Linked DNA regions of Homo sapiens: all the other regions are linked to region 1. Evidence: promoter capture Hi-C in human tissues and cell types (Jung and others, 2019). All regions are on one chromosome and are shown on one strand. Each heading gives the region's core, a stretch centred on a gene start or on the middle of the fragment in contact. The rest is flanking DNA. Distances are from core to core; before and after follow the strand shown. Region 1 holds the start of SH3GLB2 (SH3 domain containing GRB2 like, endophilin B2). Region 2 holds the start of CERCAM (cerebral endothelial cell adhesion molecule). Region 3 has its middle 17 kb from the start of ODF2. Region 4 holds the start of ODF2 (outer dense fiber of sperm tails 2).

What was found. The method cuts DNA at HindIII sites, captures the fragments that hold promoters and counts their contacts. A contact is called where the count stands out against the background at its distance.
Region 2: the fragment with the promoter of CERCAM here is called in contact with the fragment with the promoter of SH3GLB2 in region 1 in 3 of the 25 tissues and cell types used here (dorsolateral prefrontal cortex, lymphoblastoid cells and spleen).
Region 3: a fragment that was not itself captured here is called in contact with the fragment with the promoter of SH3GLB2 in region 1 in 1 of the 25 tissues and cell types used here (dorsolateral prefrontal cortex).
Region 4: a contact is called between the fragment with the promoter of ODF2 here and the fragment with the promoter of SH3GLB2 in region 1, in 1 of the 25 tissues and cell types used here (lymphoblastoid cells).

The regions. Positions count from the first base shown.
Region 1 is chr9:129,026,223-129,029,873 of GRCh38, reverse strand. SH3GLB2 (SH3 domain containing GRB2 like, endophilin B2) reads left to right here and starts at 1,543. Exons shown (of 11, transcript NM_020145.4): 1 at 1,543-1,782. The coding sequence starts at 1,720. RefSeq lists enhancers at 1-566, 567-1,306, 1,991-2,554, 2,555-3,118, 3,119-3,651 and silencers at 1,181-1,610, 1,651-2,160, 3,043-3,274. The HindIII fragment of the contact is 26,388 bases long and covers 1-3,651 here.
Region 2 is chr9:128,419,523-128,423,173 of GRCh38, reverse strand. CERCAM (cerebral endothelial cell adhesion molecule) reads right to left here and starts at 2,317. Exons shown (of 13, transcript NM_016174.5): 1 at 2,100-2,317; 2 at 196-306; 3 at 1-28. The coding sequence starts at 2,296. RefSeq lists an enhancer at 1,582-1,771 and a silencer at 2,032-2,931. The HindIII fragment of the contact is 34,497 bases long and covers 1-3,651 here.
Region 3 is chr9:128,437,441-128,441,091 of GRCh38, reverse strand. No RefSeq gene overlaps it. Among named protein-coding and RNA genes, the nearest start is that of ODF2, 17 kb to the left of the region's middle. RefSeq lists a silencer at 2,301-2,474. The HindIII fragment of the contact is 5,750 bases long and covers 1-3,651 here.
Region 4 is chr9:128,454,468-128,458,118 of GRCh38, reverse strand. ODF2 (outer dense fiber of sperm tails 2) reads right to left here and starts at 2,113. Exons shown (of 21, transcript NM_001351578.2): 1 at 1,864-2,113. The coding sequence starts at 2,027. RefSeq lists enhancers at 832-1,567, 2,161-2,210, 1,568-2,303, 2,341-2,430, 2,304-3,040 and 1 more and silencers at 961-1,010, 1,221-1,370, 1,401-1,500, 1,631-1,940. The HindIII fragment of the contact is 20,941 bases long and covers 1-3,651 here.

The DNA.
Region 1 (3,651 bases), core at 294-2,793:
GTGCCACTGCATTCCAGCCTGGGTGAAAGAGCGAGACTCCATCTCAAAAAGAAAAAAAAAAAAAAAGAGGAAACCTAGAGGTAGACAGCAAGGAGAGGTGAAGACCAGTACAAAGCCTCTATCTGAGCCCCAAGGGAAGGCATTTGGGGTCAGGAGCACCTGTAGGTCATCTCCTTGCCTGGGGCTGTGAGGAGCTGGTTTCAAGGTTATCACACATCTGTGCTCCCAGGGCAGCTCATTCTCTCCACCCTGACAGTCACCCAACCTTTGATCTCCTCCTCTCACCACACAGGGGGCTCCAGGCCCCAGCTCCAGAACCCCCTCCCTTCCCGTGACCGCCACCCCAACCCTCCTCCAATTTGGGGAAGCCACAGGGCCTCCCAGGCTGACAAACAGCTGTTCCAGCGGTGGAGGGCAAGTCCCAAGCCTGACTCCGGCTCAGTCACCAAGGTCAGGGCAGAAGAGAGGAGGAGAGGTCAGAGAGGAGGAGTAACGGGAGGAAACCCAAGGGAAACAGAGTGGAAGAAATGGGAATGGGAGGGAGGGGGTGTGAATAAAGAGCGGAGATGAAGAGGCACAAACAGGGGAGAGGCAGCAGGCCTGGGTGGTGGGAGGAGAAAGCAAGAGAGGCCCATTTTAGAGATCTGTTGCACATATTGGTGACTACTCAGTCACTTAGTGACTTTGGGAGACTGAGGCAGGCAGATTGCCTGAGATCAGGAGTTCAAGACCACCCTGGGCAACATGGCAAAACCTTGTCTCTCCTAAAGTACAAAAAATTAGCGGGGCATGTTGGTGGGCGCCTGTAGTCCCAGCTACTCGGGAGGCTGAATGAAGCAGGAGAATCGCTTGAGCCCGGCAGGTGGAGGCTGCAGTGAGCCGAGATCGCGCCACTGCACTCCAGCCTGGGCGACAGAGCAAGACTCTGTCTACAAAAAAAAAAAAAAAGTATTGCATATTTCAAAATTGCTAAAAGAGTACATTTGAAATGTTCTAACCACAAAAAAAGTAGGTGAGGTGATGGATATGTCAATTAACTTGATTTCATCATTCCACAATTTCATCACCTTGTAGGCCGTAAATATATATTTATCAATTAAAACTTTTGAAAAGCATTGGTAAGATGGCAAATAATATGTAATTATGGCGTGTACCTGCAATCATCTAAGAGCACATGTGTTCCAGTTTTAATAATTTTAGTAAAAGGAAAAAAAGAGGCCGGCCCAATCCGCGGCGGCAGGCGCATGGGGGCAGCAGCGAGCACTGCCCAGCAGCGAGCCCTGCCCAGCACAACCTGCTCCCCAGACCAACCCCCGCTCTGGCCGCGCCAAGGCCTCGCCCCCACCCATGTAGCTCCGCCCCACTGCCCTCTCGCTCCGCCCCTGTCCCGCCAGTCCCGCCCCCTCCGACTCCGCCCGGCTTCCGCCAACCAGCCCGGCCCCCGCCCCTCTAGCTCCGCCCCACTGCCGTCCCGTCCCGCCCCGGCACCGCCAGCTCCGCCCCCGCCCCTCTGGCTCCGACCCGCGGCCTCCGCGCCCCGCCCTGCGCGCTCGGGCTGGCTCGGCGGCTGCGGCGGGCGGGCAGGCGGGCAGGCCGGCAGGCGGGTGCGCGGAGGGCTGGTGCCCCGCAGCAGGTGGGCGGGGTGCGGTTGGCGGCGGCGGCTGGGCCGGGGGCTGCCGGCTGCGCTCGGGCCGTGCGCGGCGGCCGTGCGGGCACGCCATGGACTTCAACATGAAGAAGCTGGCGTCGGACGCGGGCATCTTCTTCACCCGGGCGGTGCAGGTGAGGCCTGGCGTCGCGCCGTGCGCCGGGGGCCCGGATGTGCGGCGGGCGGGGAGCACCCTGCGGCAGACGCCTGGGGACGCGGGAAAGCCCTCCCGGGCTGCTGCCCTCGTCCCCGCCGCGGCACACCTCTGCCCCCCTGAGCCCTTGCTGACCGGAAGAGGGAAAGAGCCCGTGCGGCCCGAGCCGGGCCTTGGCCCTGCTGCCTGGGGCGAGGCACCGGTGCCCACCCTTTGGGCTGGTTGGGTTACCCTGCTCCCCTGGCGCCTGCCTGGCTGAGGAGGGGAGGAGGCACCGGCTGGGTGCTACCTCCCTGCCCTTGTCCAGCAGTGACTGGCGCCTGGCGGGGCATTTAGCGACCTGGGTCCCAGGCCCAGGGACTCATGCGTCCACCACAACCCCTTCTCCGAGCCTCAGTCTCCGCACCTGTGCAATGGGCGGCTGGTGCCATGAGTCCCTCATGGCCATTTCACACGTTTGGATAGTCAGGCCGGAAGCCAGGAGTTGTTTCTTTTCTGCTCCACGGGAGGTCTGTTTCCTTGGTCCCTGGGCCTGGGGGATGGAGAGAGGGCTGGGGTCTGGCTGGGAAGCTGTCCAGGCCCACGATGCTGAGATTGGAAGAAGTCCTATCCGTTTAGGGGCAGAGAGTAACAGGCAACTCAACATCATGGGAAGACCTAGGGTCAGGTGTGGGTGGGAATGTGCCCTCCTGTGACCTTGGGGGAGGGGCCTTCATCTCACTGGGCCTCAGTTTCTCAGTCTGAAAAATGGGATCAGTATTCCTGCCTCCCAGGACAGATGCGAGGATTCTGTGGGACTCTGCATATGTGTGCTCACCAAAGGCAAGCTCATTATTGGTGTCAAAGTGGTTAATATTGCACCTGTGCAGCATGTGACCTTGGACAAGTCACTTCTCTCAGAGCCCCGCCCTCCCCTTCTGTAAATCTGGTGTAACACCGTGGTTATGGGATTCAGTGGGATTCCGCAGGCCCGGGGCTGGCCCATCCCAGGGTTCTGGGAGCAGGTCCTGTAGTCTTGTCTTTGTCGTTGTCGTTGTCATCGTTGTTGTTTCTGTTGAGTACAGTTCTCTCCCCACCCCCAACCCGGGCACTCCCCTCCCCAGGAGCCCACACCCAGCCAGCAACCCATGTAGTCATGTTTACTAGAAGGTGCTGTGTCCCGCTGAGGATTAGCATCCCAGCGAGAATTCACTGCTTAATGTGTTCCAAGTCTGGTGGGCAGCCCCAGCCCTAGTGGAGATGCCAGGATCCCAGAGCCCCTCGGATTGGACGGCCCCAGTCCATCTGGGAGGGGGGAACCCACTCTGCTGTTGGTATGGCAACCACACTATCTCCCACATCTGGGAAGAACCTGATCTGCCAGTTCCCTGCTAGGGCTGGGGCCCTGCTGCCTGACCTGGCCAGGGCTCTCAGGACCTAGGCAGGGCAGGGCCTAGGTGTGGCTCCGCTTGGTGGGAGCTGCCCCACAGGGTCACTGTTACTGGAGTGGGAGCCAGCAGTCAGGCCCCAGCCTCGGGGTGGGAGGGAGGGAGCTGAGAGCTTTATAAATAGAGGCTTTCTCTGCTCTGCACGCCCACCCCACTGCTGCCATTTTCCCGGGAGCAGCCTCGGACTCCAGCACCAAACCCCTTCCTCTTGGCAGGATTGGGGCAGAGTGGCAGGCCAGGGGATAGAGAGGCCTGAAATGTGACCTGGCAGGAGAGGCCACAGAGGGGCTCCGCCTGAGACCAAGCTGGCCTGGATGGGAGACAGTCAGGAGGGATGGGAGAGGGGTTCTTTATGATCAATACATGTGATGGGCTCAGGAACCTCCCAGTCCCTGCAGGTACAAGAAACAACTTTAAGAGCC
Region 2 (3,651 bases), core at 1,068-3,567, 610 kb after region 1:
CTTGGGACCCTCTTCATCTGGGTAGAACCTGAGGGGATAGAGGTGAGATGTTCCCATGGGGTACATGCCCCTCCCTCTCTGCAGGGCAGTGGACAGAGCCCTGGCTTGGAGGCTGTGGCTCTGGGCTGTCCCTTTTCCTCTCTGGGCTGCAGCTGTTCTCCATCTTCCCCAGCACCCTTCCCCTCAGATCACCACCTGGGCTCGCCCTCAGGCCTCCAGACCACAGCAGCATAGTCATCGCCCACAGCCGCCAGCCACTCCTGCAGCATCTCTGTGGTGTTGTCCACATTGTGGTCCGTGGCACACCTGGGGACGGGAAGAAAAAAGGCTGAGGGGGCACAGCCACAGGATTGAACCCCAAGGCAGCCTTGACCCCAAAGCACTAACACCTTTGAGGTCGAGCTCTCCTTGGAACAGTGAAGGGTAGGTGTGCTACAGCAGAGAGGCTGGAGGCAGCACAGCCAGGTCCCCACCACAGTTCTGTGACCTGCTGTGTGACCTCAGGCAAGTCCCATCTTTCTCTGGGCTTCACGTCCTCCCTCTATAACTTAAGCTGTCCTGCTTATGTCATGGACAAAGATAAGAGAAGAATAATGCATTTTTTTTGAGATGGAATCTTGCTCTGTCGCCCAGGCTGTAGTGCAGTGGTATGATCTCGACTCACTGCAACCTCCGCCTCCCGGGTTCAAGTGATTCTCCTGCCTCAGCCTCCTGAGTACCTGGGATTACAGGTGTGCACCACCATGCCCGGCTAATTTTTGTTTGTTTAGTAGAGATGGGGTTTCACCATGTTAGCCAGGCTGGTCTTGAACTCCTCACCTCAGGTGATCTGCCCACTTCGGCCTCCCAAAGTGCTGAAATTACAGGCGTGAGCCACCACACCTGGCCAACGAATGCATTTTGAAAGATGAAAAGTACCTCGACTTTAAGGATCACACCTGGTGCATTCCCTGGTTACCTTCGTTAGGTGGGCAGATACCTACCTATGTGACCTGTGGCTGTGTGACCACAGGCCAGCCCCTGTCCCTCTCTGAATGGGGACTAGACAGAAGAGCTGCTGCTTTCCTCCACCCCCAGGTTGTAATAAGGACCAAACCATGCTCTAAGCGTCCCTAAGAATGCAGATGGGTCCAAGCTCTGCTGTCATGGGGCACAGCCTCCCCTCTCCTGGGGAAGGGGCCCCCATAACAGAGGTGGGGGTTTAGCCAAGTGCCCAGGTTTTGGGTGATGCTGCCCCTTTAAGCCAATTCCCCAGAAATGAAGACTACGTGTCAAGTCTTACAGGGGTGGGAACTAACAAACTCCCAAACTGTGGTAATTGTGGGCGGCCTCCCCAGGCCAGGGCTCCACCCCCCCAGCCCAACTGTGGTGTGTTGAAGAGGGTGGCTTGTCATTTTTCTCAGTTTACCCCCAACCTCAGCCAGGGACTCCTCCCTGTTCTGGTGTCTACAGACCAGGGGTTGTGGCCTTCGATCCCAGTGCCCTGGGGGTACAGAGATGCCAGAGGGGAGAGGCTCCAGGAAGGGGGACTGCCCTTGGCTGACAGGATCCCGCCCCTCTACCAAGATCTACCAAGAGAGCTGGCCCCAGCACGGGGGCGGTGGGGGGGCCGGTCTGACTCCCCTGCACAGCCCGGAGCCCAGTGCTGATGGCACCCCCAACCTGTGCCCGGAAGCCTCCAGCGTGGTCGATCCCTGCCACGTTGGGCCCCAGTGGACTTCAGAGGTTCCTGTCTGCTCCTCTTCAAATCCAGCCAACCACAGGTCCCACTGGGGTTGAGCTGGGCCCTGAAGGCTGGGGTGAAAAGGGCTGGCTGGGCCCAACCTACACCCAGGGAAGGCCCCAAGAGGAAGGAGTAGGGGACCAGAAGGAGGGGTGGGTGTCCCGCGTCGGCCTGTGGCCTCAGAGGTCTGTCGTCTCCCAGCAGGGGGCTCGGGGTCCTCTCTGGCGGCTCGGGCTGGCAGGGCCGTCTGTGAGGGGAGGGGCCTGTCTAGGTGGTGTCTGGGCAGGGAGCGAGCAGACAGGGCCGCCGGGGGCGGGGGCCATCTGCGAAGCTGGGGGTTAGGTGCCCACTCGGTGCCAATGCCCGGGTCTCTCACCAGAGGGCCATCCTGGCCCGGGGGTAGTCCAGCCGCTCCAGAGCGCCCAGGTAGTGGGGCAGCGAGTGTTCGGCATTGCGGGCCAGGATGGCAAGGACCACGGCGGGCAGCGGCGACTCCGCAACGCCCGCAGCCTCCAGCCACGGCCCCAGCAGGAGCAGCAGCTGGAGCAGCGGCGCGGCGCGGGCAGCGCGCATGGCGGGCGCTTGGGCGGCTGCAGCGGCCCCCGGAGCTCTCGGGCCGGCCGAGGGGAGGGGGCGGGGCCTGGGGCCCGGGCGGGGCCGAGGCAGACCCGGAGAGGGCGGGGCAGTGCACCCTCAGAGTGGGATCCTGCTCCCCACCCCTGTGCGTGGATGCTCAAGTTTTCTCTCCTTGGCCCGGGGCACCGGAGGGCCAGGGCCCGGGGACCCGCGCCAGCCGCGACCCTGGAGCAGCCCCGCCCGGCTGGACCCCGGAGGGGCGACGGCGGAGGGGCCGGAGGACCGGACAGGGGAGGGGTGCTAGGACGAGTGCGTCGGGGCCGGCCGGGCGTCCGAGAACAGTAGGGGCTCATGGAACCCCTGGGCGTTGAACCCCCGGAATCCGGATTCCCCGGCCCACGCAGCCGACTCTTCGACCTGAGCCGCAGACCCAGAGGGGCGGCGCCCACTCGGCCACCACCTCCCGGGCTTCCCCGGCTCCCGCCCCATCCTCCGCCCCGGGCGCCCTCTGGCGGCCCTGGCGCTAGCTCCGCAGACCAGCCGGGCCACGCGTGGGCCGGAGACCCAGCGTGGGGGGCGCAGAGGGAGTCCCCCTGAGCTGGGCGCGTCCTCCCGCGGCGGTCCGCTCCTTAAGTCCCCTGTGCGTCACCTCCTTGCGTCGGTCGCCAGCACCCGCATTGCTTCGGCCCTTTAAGAGAGCACAGCCAGGCCGGGCGTGGTAGCTCACGCCTGTAATCCCGGCACTTTGGGAGACCGAGGCGGGAGGATCACCTGAGATCAGTTCAAGACCAGCCTGGCCAAGATGGTGAAATCCCATCTGTACTAAAAATACAAAAATTAGCCGGGCGTCGTGGCGGGTGCCTGTACTCCCAGCTACTTGGGAGGCTGAGGCAGGAGAATCGCTTGAACCCGGGAGGCGGAGGTTGCAGTGAGCCGAGATCGCGCCACTGCACTACAGCCTGGATGACAGACCGAGACTCCGTCTCAAAAAGAAAAAAAAAAAAAGAGCACAGCCCTCACAGCCCTCTCTTGGTCTGAGTGTAGAACTAGGGGACACCACGGAGCTGCTCACTGCGACCCGACCCGTCCGTCCTCCAAAGCAGGGGATGTTGGCTCCCCTGGAGCACCGCCGGGGTCCTTAGGACCCTGCTGGGAGGGAAAGAACTCTGCAGCCTCTCGGGAGAGGAGCAGAAAAGGGAGCGGCCTGGCGGCACCACAGATGGGATCGAACTGGGTGTCTGTCACCAACCTCAGACAGGTCCCTTTCCCTCAGGAGCCTCTCGGGTAAAATCGGGCTGATAACGCCACCCATCTGGGAGGGTTTGCAGGGATTCCTCGAGAGAATGAATGCA
Region 3 (3,651 bases), core at 541-3,040, 590 kb after region 1:
GTACAATCGCATGATTGCAGCTTACTGCAACCTCCGCCCCCGGCTTCAAGAGATTCTCCTACCTCAGCCTACTGAGCAGCTGAGACTACAGGTGCCCACCACCACACCCAGCTAATTTTTTTTTGAAACTAAGTTTCACTCTTGTTGCCCAGGCTGGAGTGCAATGGTGCGATCTAGGCCCCCTGCAGCCTCCACCTCCCGGGTTCAAGCAATTCTCCTGCCTCAGCCTCCTGAGTAGCTGGGATTACAGGCACCCACCACCACGCCCGACTTTTTTGTATTTTTAGTAGAGATGAGGTTTCACCATGTTGGCCAGGCTGGTCTCGAACTCCTGACCTCAGGTGATCCACCCGTCTCAGCCTCCCAAAGTGCTAGGATTATACGCATAAGCCACCACGCCCAGCCATGCTTGAATTATTACAGTGGGTTCCTAACTGGTCTCACTGTTTCTTCCATGGACCTGCCTACAGTTTATTCTCAGCACAGTAGCCGGTGTGATCTTATAACACTACATGAGATCATGCCACATCTCTGCCAGGGTGATCATGTAAAAATGTAAGTTAGATGGTTACTTCTTTGCCTCCATCTCTCTGGGGGCTCCATCTCAGAGTAAAAGCCAAAATGGCCTTCATGGCCATCCCTGCTCTGGCCCCAGCCTTGGCTCTATCAACTCTAGACACTGGTCCTCCTCTCTTCTGCACTGTCAGTCCTGCTTCTGCCTCAGGACCTTTGCATATGCTGTTCCTTCTGCTTGGAAGCTCTTCCTTTTGCTATCCCCAAGGCTCAGCCCCTCCCCTCCTTAAAGTCTTTTTTTTTTTTTTTTTTGTCTATTTTTTTTTTTTTTTTGAGACGGAGTCTCACTCTGTCACCCAGGCTGGAGTGCAGTGGTTTGATCTCGGCTCACTGCAACCTCTGCCTCCCAGGTTCAAGCAATTCTCTTCCTCAGCCTCCCACGTAGCTGGGACTACAGGCGCCCACCACCACACCTGGCTAATTTTTGTATTTTTAGTAGAGACGGGGTTTCACCCTCTTGGCCAGGCTGGTCTTGAACTCCTGACCTCGTGATCCACCTGCCTCGCCCTCCCAAAATGGTGGGATTACAGGTGTGAGCCACCCTGCCTGGCGAAGTCTTTTGTTTTTGAGATGGAGTCTCACTCTGTCGCCCAAGCTGGAGTGCAGTGGTGCAAGCTCAGCTCACTGCAACCTCCACCTCCCAGGTTCAAGTGATTCTCCTGCTTCAGTCTCCCGAGTAGCTGGCATTACAGGCGCCCGCTAGCACACCTGACTAATTTTTGTATTTTTAATAGAGATGGGATTTCCCTATGTTGGCCAGGCTGGTCTCAAACTCCTGGCCTCCAGTGATCCATCTGCTTAGGCCTTCCAAAGTGCTAGGATTACAGGCATGAGCAACTATGCCTGGCCCACTCCTGCGTCTTTGTTCAGGTGTTAACTTCTCAGATCTTACTTTGTATCTCTCCGCTTCTCATTTTTCTCTATAGCAATTCACACCCTCTGATCTTTCTTTGTTTTTGTCTGCATCCCTCATTAGGATGTCAGTTTTGGCCGGGTGTGGTGACAGAAGGTGATAGAGTGAGACTCCGCCACAAAAAAAAAAGAAAAAAAAGAATGTCAGTTTAATGAGGTCAGGGGTTTTGTCAGTTTCATTCACTGCTGAATCCCCAGGGCCTGACTGCGGCCCATGGGAGGTGCTTAATAAAGGTTAACAAATGAATGAAGGGGACACCTGGAGCCTGGAGAGAAGTGAGTCGCTCAAGGTCATAGCCATCCAGAATGAATGACTTTCATCTTAGAACGAATAAAGCACCGAGTCCACAGCTCCAGCCCAAGGTCCTTCTCACAGCCGTGCCAGGTCCTGGACCTCAACCCCAGGACAGAGCCAAGGGATACCCCAACCTCAGGGAGTGCCTGTCAGGCTCTGCCAGGACTGGAGTGCTCACACAACCAAGTCAGGGGGCCACATGGAAGAGGAGCAGGAACGGTGGAAGCCAAAGCAGCCATGGCCAAGGCCAGGAGCCATCTCCCCTCCCACCCCTCCAGCTGCCTGAGTGCAGGCATGACAGACAGCGGCTGGGCCCAGAAGCCCGACTCTCTGGGGCCAGGGGAGAGGCCTGCAGTTCCCATCAGAAGAGCAGAAGACGCAGAGCTGCTGCGGGTTGCCCCAGCACCAATGGGAGCTTCCCTATGGCCCATGCTTCCTTCCTGGTGTTGGCCCCAACCCAGCAGAGAGCATCCTGGCCAAGTCCAGGCTCTGCCACCTTGCGCCCTCTGGTGGCCACATTGGTTAGTGCCAGAGGGGAACCCAGGATCTCCCCCAGCCCCTCCCAGGCGGTTCCTCTTCCCCTAAGCCAGGGTTTCAGCTGCACAAGAGATGATCCAAAGGGCCGGGGGACATCAGCAGCCCTTGGACTGGCTGGGCCCACCCTGACCAGCAAGGTGAGGCTGGTAATGACTTCGGGGATGACCACATCAGCCCCAACAGGTGAGCACTCACTGTGAGCCGGGCTCAGGCTAGGCCACTCTATACCCAACCAGCCACAATGACCGAAGAGTAGACTAAGGCCCAGGGAAGGGATGGCACCCACCCAAGATCACCCAGCACAGAGGTGATGCTGGATCGGCCTGACTCCTCACCTGTCCTCCCCTCTCTGTCCCTCCAATTGCTCAACCATAGATCAGGAAGCCTCCTCCCAGGCCAGCTGAGATGCAGAGGCTCAGCCATGAGTTAAAAAATATAAAGTAAAAATACAAAAATTAGCTGGGCGTGGTGGCACATGCCTGTAATCCCAGCTACTAGGGAGGCTGAGGAAGGAGAATCGCTTCAACCCAAGAGGCGGAGGCTGCAGTGAGCCGAGATCACACCACTGCACTCCAGCCTGGGTGACAGAGCGAGACTCTGTCTTAAAAACAAACAAATATATATACATGTATATATATGTATGTATACATATATACATGTATATACACGTATGTGTACATATATACACGTATATATACGTGTATATACGTGTGTGTATATACGTGTATATACGTGTGTGTATATACGTGTATATACGTGTGTGTATATACGTGTATATACGTGTGTGTATATACGTGTATATACGTGTGTGTATATACGTGTATATACGTGTGTGTATATACGTGTATATACGTGTATGTGTATATACGTGTATATACGTGTATGTGTATATACGTGTATATACGTGTATGTGTATATACGTGTATATACGTGTATGTGTATATACGTGTATATACACGTATATATGTATATATACGTGTATATATACGTATATACGTGTATATATATGTATATATATAAAGTGGCAGGGTGCAGTGGCTCACGCCTCTCATCCCAGCACTGTGGGAGGCCGAGGTGGATAGATTGTTTGAGCCCAGGAGTTTGAGACCAGCCTGGGCAACATGCAAAACCCAGTCTCTACAAAAAAAAATGTGGCCAGGCATGGTGGCATGTGCCTGTGGTCCAGCTACATGGGAGGCTGAAGCAGGAAGATTGCCTGAGCCCAGGAGGTTGAGGCTGCAGTGAGCTGGGTTTGCGCCATTGCACTTCAGCCTGGGCAACAGAGGGAGACCCTGTGTCAAAAAATATATATATACATACATACATACATACAT
Region 4 (3,651 bases), core at 864-3,363, 570 kb after region 1:
GGAGGGTGGGGCAGAGACAGGGAGGTCCAAAATTATCATCTTGCCCTCTTTACAAACACTTGGGGAAAATAATGCAACATCAAAATGCAAGGAAAAAAATACTTGAGCACTTTGGTATGCGTTTTGCTGTATATGTATTACATCGTGATTTTAAAAAGAGGGGAAAAAAAAAAAATATATATATATATATAGACCTCTACTGATCCTTTAGCCAAGGAATACCAAAACTGAGAAGACAGGCTTTTTTCCCTAATCATTTAGAACATTGTTCACGTAAAGCCAATAGCTTTGGGAAATCTCTCAGTGGGTTTCTTGTCAAACCACCTGGATTCCATTATCTTGCTAACTGCCACATCCACCTCCTACGTGTTATTTATTTACACCTCGACTCCCTTCAAAAAGGCTCTGAACCTAGTACTCTATTATATAAAGACAACAAGAGTGACCCTGTTTGCTTCCAGGAAGCTGTGACATCTGGGGAGGGAAGGAGCGAGGGAGGTAGAGCTAGGATTGTGTATACATTTCGTTCCCCCTTCCCTTTAAAAACGATTTTTAAACGTTTTGGTCCAGACTTTCAGCAAACACAATGAGGAAGCTGGAAGCCTCAGGCGAGCCTGCCCTGGGGACCCCTGGCCACCTTTCCCTGCCCTCCGGCGCAGGCGCCTCCCACATCGGCAATACCTGGGGGAGCCGCCTGAGGATGAGGCAGACATGGCTAGGCATCAAAGCCGCAAAGGTGGGCAATTGGGTCAGCAGGCTCTGCTCAGGGGGACCCAGAGGGGCAGGCTTGTCAATGAGCCTCTCAAGGGGCCCGGCATCAAACGTCCTCTCTGAGGGGAGAAGGGTGGAAGCTTTGGGGTTGGCAGTTGGATGAAAACTTGGGAGGCGCTCCTCTACTGTCCAAGTCGCACAGCAACTGTCCTGCCAAAGTAGGGGGAAATAGTAGAGGCTGAGCGACCTGGGGGCAGAGGGGAGGAAGGGGAGGGGACGGGGCAGAACCGCGAGGGAAAGGACCACCGCGCCCGGGTCCCACGCGGAGGACTGCCGGTGGCTACCGGGGGAAACCTGAGGCGCCGGCGGACGTGCGGAGAGGGCGGGTGAGAACCGCTCGGCCCCAAGTGGGCCCCAGAGGGCCAGAACCGCGCAGGGAGCCGCGGGGATGCTGGGGCGGGGCCGGACAACTGTCTCCTAGGAGAAGGGGCGTTACGGAAGAACAGATGCCCGAGAGGACCAATAGTGTTTAAAGGAGGGAGGCGCGGAGGTTGCACGGGCCCCGGGCGCCCCGCCGCGAGGGAAAACCGAACAGAGTTCTGAGCAGGATAGACGCCGGGCTGGGAGGGGGCGGGCGGGACCCCCCCCCGCCGGGCGAGGGCCCTGGCAAGCCGGAGACGGTGCCCGGGGGACAGCGCTGCCTACGGAGGGCGTACAAGTGACTGCCATGTGGAGGCCCGAGGAGAGGACGAGGCGGTCGGGGCGATGCCGCCGACGGGCAGCAGAGCGAGGGAGAGCCTCTGTCGGCGGAGAGAAGGGACGGCCACCCACCAGCAGGCAGGAGGGTACCGGTTTCTGCCCATAGAGAGAAAGGTGAAGCCCTGCCCGCGGGCGGCAGAGGAGGGGCAGAGCCCCGTGGTAGCCAAGAGAGGAAGGAGGCGGCCGACCGCCCGTTAGCGGGAGGAGGAGAGGCCCCGCGCCGGTGGGCGGGGCGGGGGCCCAGGTTCTGACAGGAGGGGGACGAGCGCAACGCGGCGGGGAACCCAGGACCCGACGGCCCCGCGGGGTCGACCGCGCCGGGGGTGCGAAGGCGACGGTCTCGCCCGCGGTGCCCCGGAGGGCGCTGGATCCCGCCTGCCGGCGGCCTCTCACCAGGAGCGACACGGCTGCGCCCAGAAACGCCGCCTTATGAAGTCGTTGAAGTCGGAGGCCAGGGTCGTGCCATGGAGACGCCGCGGCGGATGCAGTCTGGCTCTGGCAGCGGCTCCTCCCCGCTTCCGCCTCCTTTTCCGACACCCGGTCGGCAGCTCGCCCATTGGCCAGTTCAAACCCCCCCGGGAGCCGCTTGGGTTTCGCCATCGAGGCCCAGCCCCTAGCGTCACAGAGATGCCCCGCCCCGCCAGAAGGGCCGCCCACTTCCGGGCCACGCGTCCCGTCACCAAGGAGACGTGCTACGCGTCCAGCGGGCCTGGCCGGGTCTCGCCCCCCATTCAAGGCCTTTCCCGCTCGGCCCTGTTTCCCCTGCCTTGGATCCTCCCGGATTCCCCTCACTCAAAGGAGCGTACGGTTCCGACGCCCTCCCCTCGGTACCCACCAGGAAACTAGGCTCACAGAGGACCCATGGAACTAGTTATTGGGAGCTGCACACTGCCTCCGAAAATCCAGCCCTGCCCCTAGTCCACTATTAATGCGGAGATGGAGTCGGCTTCTGCGCATTCCCCGGCCTCTCCCCTGCCCACATCGCCTCTGTCTTGGCCCCAACAGGAGAAAGGGTCGGCATTCCCCTTGCTGTTCTGTTCACTACCTTCCTGCACTTTTTTTTTTTTTTTTTTTTTTTTTTTTTTTTTTTTTTTTGAGACAGATTCTTGCTCTGTTGCCCAGGCTGGAGTGCAGTGGCGCGATCTCGGCTCACCGCAACCTCCGCCTCCCGGGTTCACGCCATTCTCCTGCCTGAGCCTCCCGAGTAACTGGGACTACTGGCGCCCGCCACAACGCCCGGCTAATTTTTTTTTGTATTTTTAGTAGAGACGGGGTTTCACCGTGTTGGGCAGGATAGTCTCCATCTCCTGACCTCATGATCCACCCGCCTCGGCCTTCCAAAGTGCTTGTATTACAGGCTTGAGCCTCCGCGCCCGGTCTACTACCCTCCTGCACTCTCTATGCCGCTCTGTGTACAGACCTATTCTGATGAGGTCCTTGCTGGTCCGCCATCTTCTCAATTATGCTTCACTGTCAGCCAGTCAGGGGAGGTCTGTCACGTGGCTCATAATGCCGCCCTGGAATCTGGGAGACCTGAACCACCTCCGGGCCAACTGGGCCACAGTCCCTTGACCTTTCTCCAGTGACCCCGCAGCACCTTAGCCACACAGCTCCAGGGTCACACAAGTGTTTCACCTGCAATCCTAAAGTCAGACTCGCAAACAAAACCTGCTTTTCCGCCTCGCTTTCACAGTATACTGCATACTGAATTTGTTCTGTAATGTCAGGGAGCTCCCCAATCCCTTGATCCATTCATTGTCTCTCTGTTGAATAATTGATAGATTTCCTAATCCTCATTAACCATTTAAGACTGCGGTGGCTCACGCCTGTAGTCCCAGCACTTTGGGAGGCTGAGGCAGGCGGATCACCTAAGGTCAGAAGTTCAAGACCAGACTGCCCAACATAGCGAAACCCCGTCTCTACTAAAAATACAAAAATTAACCGGGCATGGTGGTGTGTGCCTGTAATCCCAGCTACTAGGGAGGAGGAGGCAGGGAGAATTCCTTGAACCTGGAAGGCGGAGGTTGCAGTGAGCCAAAATCACCACTACACTTCAGCCTGGGTGACAGAGTGAGACTCTTGTCTCAAAAAAAAAAAAAAAAAAAAAAAAGTATATACAGGTTCAAGGAAAAGAGGACAGGAAAAGGAGGTCCCGGTCCTCCTGGGGCAGGCAGGAGATGG